Linked DNA regions of Homo sapiens: regions 1, 2, 3, 4 and 6 are each linked to region 5. Evidence: promoter capture Hi-C in 16 types of primary human blood cells and fetal thymus (Javierre and others, 2016). All regions are on one chromosome and are shown on one strand. Each heading gives the region's core, a stretch centred on a gene start or on the middle of the fragment in contact. The rest is flanking DNA. Distances are from core to core; before and after follow the strand shown.

What was found. Contacts are between HindIII fragments. The CHiCAGO score rates a contact against its expected background, and 5 or more counts as called.
Region 1: a fragment that was not itself captured here is called in contact with the fragment with the promoter of BASP1 in region 5 in 4 of 17 cell types (monocytes, M2 macrophages, M0 macrophages and 1 more); the score reaches 7.5 in monocytes.
Region 2: a fragment that was not itself captured here is called in contact with the fragment with the promoter of BASP1 in region 5 in 2 of 17 cell types (megakaryocytes and naive B cells); the score reaches 6.7 in megakaryocytes.
Region 3: a contact is called between a fragment that was not itself captured here and the fragment with the promoter of BASP1 in region 5, in 1 of 17 cell types (monocytes). The highest score is 5.3, in monocytes.
Region 4: a contact is called between a fragment that was not itself captured here and the fragment with the promoter of BASP1 in region 5, in 1 of 17 cell types (fetal thymus). The highest score is 5.3, in fetal thymus.
Region 6: a fragment that was not itself captured here is called in contact with the fragment with the promoter of BASP1 in region 5 in 1 of 17 cell types (M1 macrophages); the score reaches 5.4 in M1 macrophages.

The regions. Positions count from the first base shown.
Region 1 is chr5:17,906,164-17,909,064 of GRCh38, reverse strand. All of the region lies in intron 5 of LINC02223 (long intergenic non-protein coding RNA 2223), which reads right to left. Among named protein-coding and RNA genes, the nearest start is that of LINC02223, 100 kb to the right of the region's middle. The HindIII fragment of the contact is 1,128 bases long and covers 798-1,925 here.
Region 2 is chr5:17,996,842-17,999,743 of GRCh38, reverse strand. No RefSeq gene overlaps it. Among named protein-coding and RNA genes, the nearest start is that of LINC02223, 190 kb to the right of the region's middle. The HindIII fragment of the contact is 532 bases long and covers 1,072-1,603 here.
Region 3 is chr5:17,740,352-17,743,176 of GRCh38, reverse strand. No RefSeq gene overlaps it. Among named protein-coding and RNA genes, the nearest start is that of LINC02223, 66 kb to the left of the region's middle. The HindIII fragment of the contact is 1,225 bases long and covers 642-1,866 here.
Region 4 is chr5:17,803,715-17,806,522 of GRCh38, reverse strand. No RefSeq gene overlaps it. Among named protein-coding and RNA genes, the nearest start is that of LINC02223, 2.2 kb to the left of the region's middle. The HindIII fragment of the contact is 1,485 bases long and covers 614-2,098 here.
Region 5 is chr5:17,216,369-17,219,153 of GRCh38, reverse strand. BASP1 (brain abundant membrane attached signal protein 1) reads right to left here and starts at 1,523. Exons shown (of 2, transcript NM_006317.5): 1 at 1,344-1,523. It overlaps BASP1-AS1 (BASP1 antisense RNA 1), which reads left to right and starts at 1,732. Exons shown (of 3, transcript NR_027253.1): 1 at 1,732-2,785. RefSeq lists an enhancer at 1-403 and silencers at 438-757, 1,248-1,727. The HindIII fragment of the contact is 5,505 bases long and covers 1-2,785 here.
Region 6 is chr5:18,013,821-18,016,659 of GRCh38, reverse strand. No RefSeq gene overlaps it. Among named protein-coding and RNA genes, the nearest start is that of LINC02223, 210 kb to the right of the region's middle. The HindIII fragment of the contact is 1,893 bases long and covers 325-2,217 here.

The sequences.
Region 1 (2,901 bases), core at 112-2,611, 690 kb before region 5:
CCAATCACAAATAGAAGAACATCTTTTTTGTCCATGAGTCCTCTCATTGTTTCCATTTTTCCTTCTAAAATACTTGCCCTGTGGACTTTCGCTACGAAAGTCAGATAGAAAAACAATAGTCTCACATAGACGACGTATGTAGCCCCCACATTTGCGTAAAGGCAAATCTCTGTAATAAATCCCTTATTGTACACCTATACTGTAAGTCCTCTTTTTCTGATCAAACCCTGAGTGACCCACAGAAATTCTTGGGTTTGCAAACAAAAAAGAGAAAGATAGATTAAAACACACACACACACACACCCTTGATATTCCTAATTGGAGTCAAAACTTGACCAAATCTTGATCATTGTAACTGCAGGATAGCCAGTGATAACATATTGGTCTCAATGATTCTAAAACAACCAAAAATAGTTTTAAACAATCCAAGTATTAAAGCATATTCAAATGTCATCAAAAAGGAAGAATGTCGCCAGTGGTATCCAGGATCATTTTATTTTATTAAGGGTTGTATAATTTTTATGTTGGGTTTTGTTTTCCTTTTAACTAATTCAAGTTGACAAGATTATAATTTCTAAATTATTCCTCCTTAATTGTAACTATTTTAATTTTGTAGAGTACCACTACTTTTTCTTTAAATGCAGCTTAAGAAGGAAATATATTGAAATATTTCTTGTCCTGATGGGTATTTGAGAAACTGGGAAAGCTATGTGCCCATTTGATGATGGTTCAACTTTTTCATAATGACAGACCAAAGAAGATCCCTCTGGCTAGTGTGACCTGTTTACAGTGAAGCTTGAGTCTGTTGATGTATTTTACTAAGTATTTTTGAATTTTCACATTGTTAGATACACAAGTTTCTAAACTTTAGACAGCTATCTAATCCACTAGCTATAACACAGATTGCCTTTAGGCGTATTAATTCACTTGATGGATTCCAGTTATTTGGAGACTTTCTGTGATATGTATAAAACAGAGTGACTGTGACTTCTTAGTCACACGAGGAAACATAAAAAGTATAGCTTAACTAGCTGCTTTATCTGATATGTCAAACTGACAAGTTGTCTTTAAAACTCTAACTTGTTGCTACCATGCAGATCAATAAAGGGTGGAATAAAGTTCAGTAAAGAGGAATTATTGAGGGATAATTAAGCCAAATTTGAAAGAAGAAACAAATTTTAAAAATCACCTCTTTATTTTATAGAAAACTGTATCAAATGCACTGTTGGTTGTTATGTAAAAATAAATTATTGATATAACTTATATTTGCCTCTCCATTTAAAAAGAGGACTGAGGAGAATAAATTATGAATGAGGTATTTACTGAGCAAAAGCCTATTTTTCCTTCTATTAGGAATCACACATTTTTGCCATCCTATCTGATGGCTGGAGCTCCACACTTGAGAGTTGACTCCACCTTAGCAAATGCTTCTGTACCTTACCCAAACACTCTCTTTTCTTACTTACCTGGCACGCCTTTAAAACAAATTTTCTTTGCCATTTTAAAAACAAGAAACAAACAACAACAAAACAAACATGTAAATAGAGTATTTAATCACAGAGAAGGGGATTAAGGCAACTTTGTCATAGGCCCCTTAAACTTTCTTTTTCCTTGGCAAAATGTCAACTTATATGGTTCTGTTTAACCCATCAAAAGTTTTTCAAGAATTTTGAAGGGCCTGAGATTTGACCCTATGTGCAATGTAACAAGTTTGCGTGCCACAGTTTCATGGAGGCTGATCAAAGGCACAAGACTCCTGGGACAGAAACAAAGGCCTTTATTACTCATAGCACAACGGGAAGCATGAGTCTCATGGCTATGTTGGTTCCTCTTGCTCTCTAAGTCCCACAGGGGTGACAGAGAGGCACCCAAGAGAATGCTGTGCATGCACTGGGTTTGCATCCCAGCCAAGTGACCCCTAAGCTTAGGAGGAGATATTACCTCTACCTTCCAGTGTTGTTTGCTATAGAAATATCCTTGAAAAAAATAGCCCAAAACAAAGATTGCCAGTGTCTCTGCTCACAAGATGTGCAGAATTGTGAGAAACCCATGGAGAATTATCTCTCAACAAGTGTAATGCCAGACTTAGTTCCAAATCTTCCTTATTATAAAGAGCTGATATTTGCCTACTCTTAACCTCAAAAAACTTGATCTAGTAAAGGGAAGGAGTATTCTCTATAGCAGGTGAAATTATTTCAAACTAATTTATTGGGCTTCCAATTACATGTGGCATTCATTGTATTAGGACTGTATCAAGCAAATCACCTGTTAAAAAACCAGTTCATTCCTTAACTACTTCACCTTACATATATTAAGAGCAATGCTCTCAGAAACATGTCTTAATCTGTTTGGGCCATTAAAAAAATGCATAATTTATCTTTCACAGCTCTGGAGGCTGGGAAATCCAAGATCAAAGCATCGGATCCAGCGTCTACTGAGGGCATACTTTCTGGTTCTGTGTCTTCACATGGTGGAAGGAATAAATGAGTTTTCTTTGGCCTATTTTTATAAGGGCACTGATCACATTTATGATGATGTAATCACTTCCCAAAAGGCCTTCAGCACCTAATACCATCACTTTGCGTGTTAGGATTTCAACATATGAATTTAGGGGTTAGAAACATTCATATCATAGTAGAATGTATTTATTCACATGCTATGAGAATAAAATTCTGCCTCAAAAAACAGGGTGTCAATTAGAGGAAAAATGGTGGATAAGAGGCAGGACTAACTTGTAGCTCCCACTCAGAGGGACAGAGCTATGAAGACCCATATCATGAACTTTTGCTCCAAGAACTACCACAGAAATATACCAGGTAAGCCCAGAGAATCCACAGACCCTCTGAAAGAGGTGGATTGCTGCTGCAGATTCCGGGGGACAGCCAACCTTGCTTTCTCAGC
Region 2 (2,902 bases), core at 88-2,587, 780 kb before region 5:
ATCAAGGAAAGGATGCCCATTCTCACCACTTCTGTTCACTTCTGTTCTAGCTAGAACTGGAAGTACTAGCCAGAACAATTAGGAAATTTTAAAAAATAGTAAGAGGCATTTGAGTAAGAAAGGAAGAAGTGAGATTGTTTCTGTTTGCTGATGACATGATCTTACATATGGAAAACCCTAAAGGTTCCACAAAAAAAAAAAAATAAATGAATTCAGCAAGTTCCAGGATATAAAATCTACATACAAAGATCAGTAGCATTTAGATGCACTAAAAATGAACTATCTGAAAAATAAATTACGAAAAAACCCATTTATAATAGGATTAAAAATACCAAGGAGTAAGTTTAAGGAAATAAATGATCTGTATATTAAAAACTAAGACATTGGTAAAATAAATTGAAGGTGACAGAAGTGAATGGAAAGATATCCCATGTTCATGGGTTGGAAGAATTAATGTTAAAATGTCCATAGGACCCAAAGTAATCTACAGATTCAGTGTAATCTCTATCAAAATGCCTGTGTAATTCTTCACAGAAATAGAAAAAACAATCCTAAAATTTGCACGGAACCACAAAAGACTCCAAATAAACGAAGCAATCTTGACCCAAAGGAACAAACCTGGAGGCATTGTGCCACCTGATTTCTATACTACAAAGCTATATTAATCAAAACAGCATAGTACTGACATAAAAACTGGCACATTGACCAATGGAATAGGATAAAAAGTTTAGAAATAAACCCAGATATCTACAGTCAATTGATTTTCAACAAAGGTGCCAAGAACACACAATGGGTAAAGGACTGTCTTTTTAAGAAATTGTGTTGGAAAGACTGGCTATCCCATGCAGAAGAATAAAATGGGACCCTTATACTCACCCTGTATACAAGAATAAATGCAAAATAAATTACAAATTTAAATGTAATACCTGAAACTTTAGAACCACTAGTTGAAAACATAGGAACAAAGCTCCATAACATGGGTCTGGACAGTGATTTCTTACATATAACCCCAAAACCAAAGGCAACAAATGCAAAAAATAAACAAATGGGAGTGTCTCAAACCAAAAAGCTTCTGCACAGCAAAAGAAACAACAAAGAGATAATCTACAAATTGGGAAAATGTTTGCAAATCACACATTAAATAAGGGCTAACATCCAAAATAAATAAGGAACTCAAACTATTCAATAACAAGAAAACAAATAACACTATTAAAAATAGACAAAGGACCTGAGTAAACATTTCTAAAAAGAAGACATATAAATGGCCAACTGCTATATGAAAAACAAAAGTGCTCAACATCACAAATCAGAGGAAGGCAAATTAAAAACTCAATGAGATAACACATCACACCTGTTATATTGGCTATTATCAAAAAGATGAAAGATAAGTGTTGGCTAGAATGTGGAGAAAAGGGAAACCTTGTACACTGTTTGTGGTATTGTAACAGCACAGCCATTTTGGAAAACATTATGGAGGTACTTCAAAAATGTAAAAATAGAACTACCATCTGATCAATCCAGTAATTCTACTTCCAGGTATATATCCAAGGAATTGCAATCCGTGTGTGAATGAGATATCTGCACTACCATGTTCATTGAAGCTTTATTCACAATAATCAAGATATGGAAACAACCAAGTGCCCATTAACGGAATAAAGAAAATGTGATATATATATGTACACATAATGAAATACTATTCACCCTTTAGAAAAAGGATATTTATCATTTGCAACAACATGGATATACCTAGAGGACATTATGCTAAGTGAAGTAAGCCAGGCACAGAAAGGGAAATACCACATGATCTCACTTATATGTGGAATCTAAAATTGTCAAACTCATAGAAGTAGAAAGCAGGATGACGCTTACCAGAGACTAGGTTGGGGGAAGAATGCAGGGAAAGGGAAGACATTGGTCAAAGAGTACAAAGTTTCACTTAGACAGGAAGGATAAGTTCTGGTGTCCTACTGCACAGCATTGTGACTACAGTTAATAATAACATATTGTATATTTCAAAATTGTGGAAAGAGTGGATTTGAATTTTCCCATCACAAAGAAATAAGTATGTGAAGTGATAGATATATTAATTAGCATTATTTAATCATTCTGCAAAGCGTATATGTACCAAAACATCAGTTTGTACCGTGTAAATCTATACAATTATTATCTATCAATTAAAAATAACATTTAAAAAACTGAAGCAAATGACACATTTGATTAGTTTCAGTTAGAAAACTAGAAAGAAAATGCATTCTATACACAATAATTTTGCCTATGTTTGTCTCCAAGAAGTCTAACATATTAATTTTTATTCCAGATATATAACATACATGAAGAATTTTCAGGAAATTGTTATAATAATGTAAAAGTTTTCAGAATTAAGTTCTTGAGAGTAATAGTCAAAGGAAATTGCCAAGACTTTTTCCTTCTAATAAAACTATTTCTTACGTATATACATTGATCATTATTGTAAGTAAAATACTTTGCTTGTCTTAGTCCACTATAATCCAATTAAATTCTCAATAATATTTAAAAGAATATCACTCATCTTTTTATGTATTTCTCAAAATTGAGACATCTAAAAGAAAAAAGTTCACATAGTCTAGTTGCAGATTTCTGCAGAGTCAACATGATATTAATATTATGAGACTATTTGGTAAATCTATGTCAAATTTTGGCCAACATTTCAGAGTTAAGTTGTGCTCCTGACACAGGAGAATCTCTCACAGGACTCAAGTACAAGAGTATCCATGTGGATAATGAATGCTGGTCTATTTCCCAGATGTATAACAAAGCTATGGGGAAAGTGGAGTCAGCTCACACTTCAAACACAGTCTGTTGATTCTGGTGATTAAATGCAATTTCTTCTCCGATATATTTTTCATACTAGTGTATGCATTTG
Region 3 (2,825 bases), core at 5-2,504, 520 kb before region 5:
TGCAAGCATCGCAATACATTTTATACCATTACCTTTATTTGGCAGTGGGTTAGTTAATTCAAGAACAGGAGCATTCTTATATATTAATTTTTACTTAAGTTTTATGCCATTTTCCCTTTTGAGAAAAAGAGCATAAAATTTTGTAGTATCAAATGTTTGAGTATAAGTTTAATGCATTAAATTTTGTTAACTTTACAAATAAATTAAAATAACGGCTTAATATTTATCTTTCCATAATATTATATTTTTATTTTATGTGATTATATAATATGTGTTTGTGTTTTAACTGAAGGGCTTATTTAGAGAATATAAGATTCCAGCACTGTGTAATCTCTCTTTTTCCCAGTGTCATTACAAATCGATAAGTCACTGAAGATGAATTTAACAGCAGCTAAGTGGTGCATAAAATCAGTTTTTCAGTTTGTATTTTCAATAGTAAAACAGAGTTTATACAATACCCACGATTTGGTTTCATTTTTTGCTGAGTCTCAGGTTTAATTTAAGCCAATGGGACCTTTGGAGATTGGTGTTGAACTGATTTAGTAACATTCTTGAATTTCTGCATTCCAAATAATAGGTACTGATAATCATGGTCACATGTGAGTTAAGTCAATTAATATGCTCCTCAAGCTTCTCAAGCTTATTGTTCATGGCCTCCACCAAGCTCAACTTCCTACTAACTCACTCCTTCCTGGTCTAATTTTGCAGAAAACTATCAAGAAACCTGCAAATCATTCAAATCATTATCATCCACTCATAATTTCTAGCGATAAGTAATGCAGATTTGTTACATTCCTAAAGGAATTGCTCTGCAGTAGTTAACCCTATTATTTTTTTCTCAAGAAATCAGAGTGGGGAGAAAAGGAAATGGACTAAAATATCCAGGCTCCCTTCCGCAGTAAGGTTCTGAGAGAGTCATTGTTAGAATTAAATCAATTAGTAGTACAGATAATTCAATAAATTGTGGTTGGAGAGTGGATGTTCTCAAATCATATTTTAGAAACTAATTATCTCCTGGTTCCTCAAACGGGTCAAAGAGCATTCAGGGACCACAAATGGAGTGGGTATGTCAGTGGTACTCCTCAGAGCTTGGGATGGTTTTACTGCTGCAGGAAAAAGAAACCTACTAGCAAAATCCAGATAAACAGTCAAAGGTACTAATCTTTTCTTAAGGCACAGCATCTATTTGCCCCTTGGATTCTGTCTACTGCCCTCACACATGGGTGCCTATCCCTGATTGATATGGTTTGACTCTGTGTCCCCAACGAGATCTCACCTTGAATTGTAATAATCCCCACATGTCAAGGGAGGGACCAGGTGGAGATAACTGAATCATGGGGGCAGTTTTCCCCGTGCTGTTTTTGTGATAGTGAGTGAGTTCTCACAAGATCTGATGGTTTTATAAGGGGTTTCCACCTTTGCTCAGCACTCATTCTCTCTCCTGCCGCCCTGTGAAGAGGTGCCTTCTGCCATGATTGTTAAGTTTCCTGAGGCCTCTCCAGCCATGCAAAACTGTGAGTCAATAAACCTCTTTTCTTTATAAACTACCCAGTCTCAGATATTTCTTCATAGCAGCATGAGAACAGATTAATACGCTGATTCTGTGGAAATGTATGTACGCTTTAAGGGGGGTCACTGAAATAAATCACCATTGATTTTGGAAAGGACTTCAAAAAGGGTAACTGAGTTTTGTCTGAGTTAACCTTACTTGGCTGGAACTTTTCATTTCCTCTGAGTTAAGTCAAGTCAGGTTAATATGCTTGTATTAGGCACCTTTTGTTTACCTGGAACTGAGAGAAATAACAAGATAATTGTTATCTTGTTATTTGTCTCCAAAGGAGAGTCTGCAAGCCAAAAACAAAAGCTTCATAGGAGCCAAATATCATCTTATGGATTTATTCTCTAATTGCGATAATAGATTTTCACATTATTCTGAAAGATAATTATTTCCCAGAATTGTTATTAAAGTGTTTCAATAAAACATTCTTACAGATAAAATTTATGCCCAAGAAGTTATGATAAAATCAACTCATGAAAATGTTAAGTAATCATGGTGATGATAACGATGATGATGATGATGCCAATGATGATTTCGAACAAGATGTAGTCAGTTTTGTTTTGTATGCATATTTTGATATGCAAATTTGTTTCTACACCATTAATATATTAGCAAAAACTGTGAGCATAACATTAATTTTACATTTCACAGTTATGTATAGTTATTTCATCTTTAAGGAACATCAGGTGAATGCAGAAAATGGCACTCTGCTGAAACTGAGCCTCAAAGGAATACATAAAACATACGAACACCGAGAATTTGTCAATTATCTCAGTTTACTCATGGGTTATGAGCCATACCCTTCTAGTGTTACAACTTTCCCATGACTTGAAAATAACTGTCCTTCCTCTACTTCACAATAACTGGCAAGCTGCAACTCTTCTACAACCAAACTTCAAGTATTTTTCAAGATAAAAGGCTACATTTATTCTATTATTTATTTCTTAACCACATAACATATGTAAGACTGTGCTACTTGTTTTAGTATGTTCCTATCTTATTTATGTGTCAGTGACTTAGTTTGGCGGTATTATACCCATAGCCCCATTTTTCTCACAAGCCCTTTTATGTTATGTAATTTTCCACAACAGTGTGACTTATAGGAACACATTTGTCATGTTATAACAGAAGTGACAGTACTTATACTTTTCATATTTAAAGCGGGTTCATCAAAATAAAAACAACGAACCACGCAACAACATAGTATACATTTTATATAACACAGGAAAATCCATTCTTGGAGCACACCAAAGGCCACTCATTCATT
Region 4 (2,808 bases), core at 107-2,606, 590 kb before region 5:
TGTGCAGTCATATCACAAAAGGGCTGGCAAACCTAGTGCATCAGCCATACCTCCATATTAATGGAATTATTTTTGTCTGAATTTTGTGCTCATAAAAGGGAAGAAAATTACTGAAGTTGTATAGGATTTTCTTGGGAAAAATTCTTCCTAAAAGATATTTCCCGGTATTCTATTTATGCTGTTCAGTAGGTAAACAAATAAACTAGACTTTTAGAATGCTAAGTAAATGAAGTTTTAGAATGCCATATCAAAATGCTCAAACTCATAGCCCAGCTTTTTCAATGTAGTATGCACAGAATCCTAAGCGTGAACAGGAAATGTGCGAAGGCTTCTTTTGCATCCAAAGTATCCATGGAATACAAATGTTAAAATACCGTTCGACAGAAGTGTTATAAATCCATGAATTTAAAATACATTTTATTCTAATAAACTTGGAAATTTATGCCTGCAATAGACCCAGGAAATAATGCAATCCCTTGTTTTATATATGAGAAAACAAACGCCAAGAATCAGTAAGAAACATACCAGTCCAGATTAGTTGCAGACCTTCAACTAATATCAGAAGGGTTTTTGATTCTTATTGGCTTAACTTATAAAATGTTCACCATAAGCTTCTTCAAGATAAGAATTGCATTTTGTCTTCATTGTTGTGTTTTAATTTATAGCTTAATGCTCAACTTTCAATAATTACTAACAATGGTTTATGCATGTTATGTGTGTGGCATCATCTGATAGGAACGCTTCCAACCGAAAATAACAGGAAACACTATATAGAGTGGGTGGCTTAATAAATATTGGATAATTTTTCTGGCATAACAAGTAGTCATGAGGGAAGCAGCTAGCATTGGTTCAGTGGTTTGACAATTTCTGAAATTCTCTTGGGATTTCTCATGTTTACTTCCTGGTTGCAAGATGACTGCAGTAGCTTTCAGCATTGCAGTCTGCCTTCAAGAAAGAAGGAAGAAGGAGCCATGCCAGGAATTATATCAGGTAATACCTTATAACATGCCCTGACATGAGGAAAAGCAAAATCCTTCCTAGAGCTCTTAGCAAGTTCAGGCCATGTCTTAGTTTCCAGAACTAAAGCATATGGCTGCTCTCACTGCAAAAGAGACTGGGGACATAAGAACTTAGGTTTCTTCCAACTGTTATGGCAGAAATGATAATGGAGAAATGGATTTAAAATACTTTAGTGTGAGCCAAAAACATTAGATGCTTATGTGAAAATAGAGAGAAAAAATAGAAACAAATGAAGAAAGAAACCAAAAAAAAGATAAAGAAAGAAAATAGAAAACATGTATTCCACTGCAATCCTAAAACAGGAAATATGAATTATTCAAAATGAAAAAGAGAGGTGATATGAAGCCACATATAAATGTTTTTCAAGTTCTTTTTGTGGTGGACATTGTCACTAGTAACCAAAGCAGACCCACAGAGAGTGTGTAGCAATTTCAGCAGGCATTAAGAACCTGTGGGTTGGTTGGGCACAGTGGCTCAAGCCTGTAATCCCAGCACTTTGGGAGGCTGAGGCGGGTGGATCACGAAGTCAGGAGATTGAGACCATCCTGGCTAACACGGTGAAACCCGGTCTCTAATAAAAATACAAAAAAATTAGCCAGGCGTGGTGGTGGGCGCCTGTAGTCCCAGCTACTCGGGAGGCTGAGGCAAGAGAATGGCATGAACCCGGGAGACGGAGCTTGCAGTGAGCCGAGATGATGCCCCTGCAGTCCAGCCTGGGTGACAGAGCGAGACTCCGTCTCAAAAAAAAAAAGAACCTGTGGGTTTTGCCAATTGTCAGGTCAAGGGAAAGCTCCAGGTAAACTATTGCTAAGAAATTTTAACCACTTCTGAATGTCCAAAACTTAAAATCACTACCCTACATGAATAGTGTTAATAATTTTTGTATACTATTCTTAACACATAATTTGGAAGGGTTATATTATTATAAGTTTTTTGTTGTCTGACTTTAAAATCACTTGCAAGTGTTAGAAAAGTACTTACAAGTATTGTAGAAGCTCTTTCTTTTCCTTTGGGTCAGTGCCATACAGTATAGAAAGCAAGTAGGCCATATTAATTGCTTAGTATCAAGTCAGAAGCTTCAATTTCTAGGGCACCTTTGACTCATTGTCCTACTAAAAAAAAAAGTGCAAAAGTGCATGCTACCTCCTCCTCCCCAGTCCCTGCTAGGATGTAAGCTCCATGAGGGTAGAGATTCTGTTTGTCTTGATTTCTACTATATCTGTAGTGTTTACAACAGTGCTTGATACAAAATAGTTATTCAATAAATAGTTGTAGCATGAGTAGGCAAAACTTCATCCAGTTAAGACCAATTGCCTACTAGGCAAATATTATTTTACTTGGAGGTGTAATTCAATACTTTCTGCAACACCCTACTGCAACATAGGTTGTACAGCAATAAAGTTAAACATCAGATCCTTCCTCAGAAAACAGCTTATTGAGCCAAAGAATGAAACTATAAGGATCTTGAGAGTGAGAGCCACATACTTATCTTTTGTCTTCCTTGCCAAACCCAAAGCCTGACACATAATAAATGTTTGTAAAATTAATTGCTGACCAGTTTTTATATTGAGCAATTACTAAAGTGTTGTCAATCAATATTTCAGTCTAAACCATTAAAATAAAACTAAATTGACATGTTTCCAATAAATATCCAACCTCTGAACTTTACTCCTAAGAACATTATTCAAGTTCAAAAGTATTCAACTTTCCAACCAGAAAACTAATGAAAATCACAGAGGTAATTCATAATACCCAAGTCAGGGTGAAGTATACACTTATACATGCATA
Region 5 (2,785 bases), core at 274-2,773:
GTATACTGGGGGTCTGTTGGCCCGGGCTGTAATCCCGGGAGGTGGGGGTGGGGGGTCGGTCCACAACCCTATAGCAGAAGGCCATTTCGACGCTAGTGTTGGGTTTTAGCCCGCCCCACAGTGCGAGTGGCCGCGGGGGAGACAGAGGTGTTGTCAACCTGTACAAGGTCCTAAAAAATGCACCCATGTGTGCTGTGCTAATTTCAGCAGAGTGAGAATTACATGGGCAAGGGCTGTCCACCGAGTTCGTTTCAAGGCGGAAATGTCTCTGGGGACGCAGATAAGGAGCCTGGCCAAGCGTTCGATGAATATTCATGAAAAGAATGCGGTTTGCAGCCGCGCATTGTGCGTGCGATCGGATCCAGGATTCCGCAATTTTTATTTTTCTGGAAATGGAGGGGGGACGGGGGCGGGGGGAGCAGGAACCGGGCGCCGGGTTTCAGCTTTAGCGCTTTGGGCAAAAGCTGCTCAACCCCAACCCTACGCTCCCAGCGGGGCTGAGCCCAGTTAGGGCCGCGCGCTGTCAGGTTCAAGCCCACACCCCCCGGGCCCGGGCCGGGGCCGGGACCCAGGGCGGAGGCGCCTGGCGCATTCTTGGAACCAAAGGCTCGAAAAAACAAACTGCTCCGAGGCAGCCCACGGGTTCGTAGGAAGGCAATTCCGCCACTGACGAGGCTGGGGCTCCGATCTGCTCGGGAGGTGCTTCTGAGTGCACGTCGCCGTGTGAACCTCGTATTCCTTGGCCCCAGAACCAAGATCCAGGAGTCCCATGGGTCGAGAAAACCCGTTTGCCAAAGCAAAAAGCCACCCACTTCCTTCTGATCGGGCCAGATTCCCCATCTTCTTTCTCCCCGGACTCCCGCCCCACCCCACCCCCACCCTCCATCTTTGGCTGCTGCGCCCCTCGCCCCGAGCGCTTTCTCCCAGGCTGGTAAGGGCTCCGATGACGGAAGCGCTCCCTTCAGCCCACAGAACCGTCTCCCCGGGACTCAACGCACTGAGGGGGTTTCGCATTCGGCAATTCCTCCCGTCACCCGCAGCTCCTCTCCCCGACAGCCCCCTCCCCCCAGCTCCGTTTACCAACCTCGCCGCCCCCCTCACCCCTCCACCATGCGAGCGGCTGAAGCCTCCCACTTCTGGGCCCCCCATCACCCGGGATCCCCGAAGTGCGACGGAGCCCTCACAGAGGGACCCCAGGCCCTTGCCGTCCAATCCGGGCCCACATCCCTGCTGCCCGCTGCATGAAGGGAGAGCCCGGGGGCTGCGGGGCGGGGCGCGGCGCGGTGGGGGACGGAGGCCCCCGGGTCCGCGGCGGCGCGGGGCCACCGGGCGCGCCTCCTTACCGGCTCTGGGTGCCTATGCAGCCCCTGAGTTAGCGCGGTGCCGCCGAGAGGCCGGGGTCGCTGGCGTCGTCTGGCTGGTGCCTGGCCGCTGGCGGAGGCTCTCTCCCGGCTCGACGGCGGAGCCCGGAGCGAGGAGCCAGTTGGAGCGCTGCCGCCGCCGTCGTCGCCGCTGCCGCTACTGCCGCCGCCGCCGCCGCTGCAGCCTCTGCATTTCTCGCGCTCGCTCCCCCTCCCCTTCCTGCCCAGTGCCCTCCCCCCGCGCGTCCGCCCGCCCAGCCTCCCTCCTCCCGCGCTCCCCGCCCGCCTCTCTCCCCTCCCTCCAGCCCGGCGCCCCGCCCGTCTCCCCTCCACCCCCTCCAGCTCCATCTCCCCACCCCCTGCACTCCCTCTGCTCCCCTCCCCTCCTCCGGCGCAGACCCTCCCCTCTCCCCTCCAGCCTGGACACGCCCGCCTCCCCTTGACTCCCCCCAGCTCTGGGCCCCCACCTCCCCTCCCCTCCAGCACAGTCACCCCCATTTCTCTCCTATCCGCCATCCTGGTTCCTCCCTTCCCCCCACCTCCCAACTCTGTGCCCCGCCAACGTTTCCTAAATGCCCTCTATTCAGATCCCCCCTCCGCCTCCCCTCTCCTCTCCTCCATTCCTGCGTCCCCCTTCCCCCGCCGCGCCGCCTGGGCTGTCCGTGGACTTCTCCCACTCTCTCACTCTCTCACTCACTCTCTCTCTCTCTCTCTCTCTCTCACTCTCTCTCTCTCTCTCCCCCTCATTTATTTGGAACCGTTGGATAAGAAGTGCTCGGGCTCTCGCTCAGACTTAGGGAGCTGCCTCGAGGTGATGAATGACACCCCCTGGCACCAGCTACCCTTCTCAGACCCCAGTCCAGCCCGCTCCCGACGTCGACTACGATTCCGCTACCTCGGCTGGCAGCGAGGTTGGGGTGAGCCCCAGCTGCAGGCGCGTCTGGGCTGCGCCGCTGCAAACGAGTTGCGCACCTTGGGCGGCTCCGCACCTGCACCCGCACCCGCGGGGCTCAGCCCCGAAGGCTGCAGCTTCGGGGGAGGCGCGGTCGCCGAGGTCCAGCTGGTGGGGCGAGAGACGTCGCCCCTCGGAGGATGCTCTCGGAACTTGGGAGAGGAAGGAGGGAAGAGAAGAGGGGAAAGGGGCCGTCGATGTTTTTGATGTCTGTGCTTTAATGGAGGCCACCAATATTGAGAAGACGGGGTTGGCCGAGGCAGCCCGCACGCTGCTGCTTGCGAGCGCTCGAGTCAAAGCTAGGGCCAACCGCGGCTTGTCCGGGTGCCCTAAGGGGGCGGACACTTGGTTTAGCACCGGGACACAGAATAGCCACCGGGGTAGGAAGATGCGTTCACTTTGCTTACCTGTTGGCAAGAGGGACATACAAAAATAACGTAACGTGACATCGTTGACAACGGTAGCTCTTTGA
Region 6 (2,839 bases), core at 22-2,521, 800 kb before region 5:
CAGAAAACCAATTTTCCTAGTGTAATTATTAGAAAGAAATAGATACATTTGGAAAGTCATATTTTAGAGATTAGAGATCTATGGAAACAACAAGAATGTGATAAACCAAAATCTCAGGCAAGGGAGACCCTTCTGTAGCTGATAATCACTGGCTGCTTTCAGCCTGTAAAGCCTTAATTAATTTGGTGCATGGGTGAGGCTCAAGCTAAGCCCTAGTAGGCATCCTCTATCAGAGGAAAAGAGAATCCAACAAAGCTATTGCTTATCTCATGAGCCTGACCCGAGACATGGGAAACTAAAGGAACTCCAAACAGTCAGTAAGCTTTCCCCACAGGACATGTGCTAAAGAAAGTGGAGACTCGGGGATAGGTAAGAGGTTTTATAAAAGGAGAGTAAAATATCCCACATCCCTACAATGCATAAGAGAACAGTTATACGAGAGAATGGAAGCCCACCACAAATACACAGCCAATCTCCTCCTTGATACACATGCTACAATTTGCATAGGAAAGAAGACTAAAGAGTTAAGCTGATAGTTATATAGTTAAGTTGTAGTTATTCAGCACTGAGGAGAAAGAGATCAGCCAGAGTTTTAATCAAAATCTGGAATGGCCACACCGCACAAAAGTACCAGAAAGAATGTGAATCTTTTTAAAACTGCAACACAACTAAAAACTTGGCCCAATCTGTGCAGCATACAATGGTTCTTTTAAAATATTGTCTAGCAAACAATCAAAAATTAATAGATATATGAAGTAGTACAGAAATTTGACCAATAATTTAAAAAACAAAACATGAATTATACAAATAGACTCATAGGCAATCCAGATACTGGTGTTGGAGGATGAAGAGTTTAATATATTATTAGCATACTCAAGACAAATGAGGAAAAGACAAATAAAATGGATGTAAATGTGGCAATTTTAGTAGAGATTCATATGAAAATAAAAAATGAAAATTCTAAATCTGTGAGGCAAACACAGGATCCTCTGTATACTACAATTAAAAAGAAAAGATTGTTAATCTAAATGACAATAACAAAACCCAATTATATGCTGGCTTTAGCACAATTTAAACATACACTTTAAATCTTAGGATACAGATACTTTAAAAATAAAATTATAAAATATAATGTACTATGCAATTCTATCATCAACAACAATGAAGAATGTCTGGCTGTATTCCTACTAGACAAAATAGATTTAAAACCAAGAGGTATTAGAAAAGATTAAGAGAGATAATTCATAATAATAAAAGGATCAATCTTTCAGGAAGGCATAGCAAATTAAATATGCAGGTACCTAATGATATAACGTCCAAATTTATGAAGTAAAAACAAGGAAATATTTTAAAAAGGAACTATCAAAGTTGAAGATTTTGACATTTCTTCTTTAGAACACACCGCATTGACTTAATAGACATATATAGAACCCTGTATCCAACATCTAAGAAATACACATATTTTTTAAGTGAAGGAGTATTTAGCAAAACTGAATGTATATTGAATAATCCCAGAATATTAAGAAATTAAGCAAGGCGGGGAGTAGTGGCTCATGCCTGTAATCCCAGCACTTTGGGAGGCCGAAGCAGGTGGATCACGAGGTCAGGAGATCAAGACCATCCTGGCTAATACGGTGAAACCCCGTCTCTACTAAAAATACAAAAAATTAGCCAGGCGTGGTGGCGGGTGCCTGTAGTCCCAGCTACTCGGGCGGCTGAGGCAGGAGAATGGCGTGAACCCGGGAGGCGGAGCTTGCAGTGAGCCGAGTTCGTGCCACTGCACTCCAGCCTGGGCGACAGAGCGAGACTCCATCTCAAAAAAAAAAAAAATAAATAAATAAGAGATTAAGCAAAACACTTCAAAAATGTATGGGTCACAGAAGACATAAAGAAAACTTATATGTAGGTGAATTGAATGATAATACAATTTATTCAAACTTTTGGCATGTAGTGACATGGTATCAGACAAGTTTTTAGTTTTCAATTATATTTTAAAAAAGAAAAAAATTGAAATGAATAGTATATGCTTTCATGTCACTAAACCACAAGAAAATCCAGCAAATTATTCCCAAGTAGAAAGAAATATAAACTATCAGAAATCAATGAAAATACAAAACAGACACAGAGTAGAGAAAAATCAAAGCCAAATTCTGATTCCTGGAAATTATTAATAAACTATTAGCAAGACTAATTATGAGGAAAAAATTAAGGAAAGCTTAGAATAGTAGCCTTAGGAATGAAAATGGGGTATCACCAGTGATTTTTCTTTAAAAAAAAGATAATAAAAGGATACCATATTAATCACTTTATTAAAAGAATAATAGATAGTGTGCTCATAAATTTGACAACCTAGTTAATATAGGCAAATTTCTTGAAAAACATAATTTACCAAGCTGGACTCGGTAAGAAATACACACACACACACACATACACACATACAGACACAGACACACACACAGAATTTTTTTCTGCTCAAACATTTGAAAGTAAGAAGTAGGCACCATGACACTTCATCTCTCAATATTTCATCATGCACTTCCTAAACTGGGACATTCATCTGTATAATGACAGTAACATCCTCACACTCAATAAATATTTAGATAATATTATTTTTAAAACAGCTCACAAATTCATTTATTCATCTCAAAATTTTTCTTAACTTTTTCACTATCCAACATCCAAAGATCACACATCACATTTAGTTTTCATGTTTAATCTTCTTTGATCTAGAATAAACAGCCCCACTTTCTTTTCATTTTATACAATTTTGATATTTTGAACTGTCATGGCAATTGTTCTTGTAGAATATTCTACAATCTGGAATATTTTCACATAAATT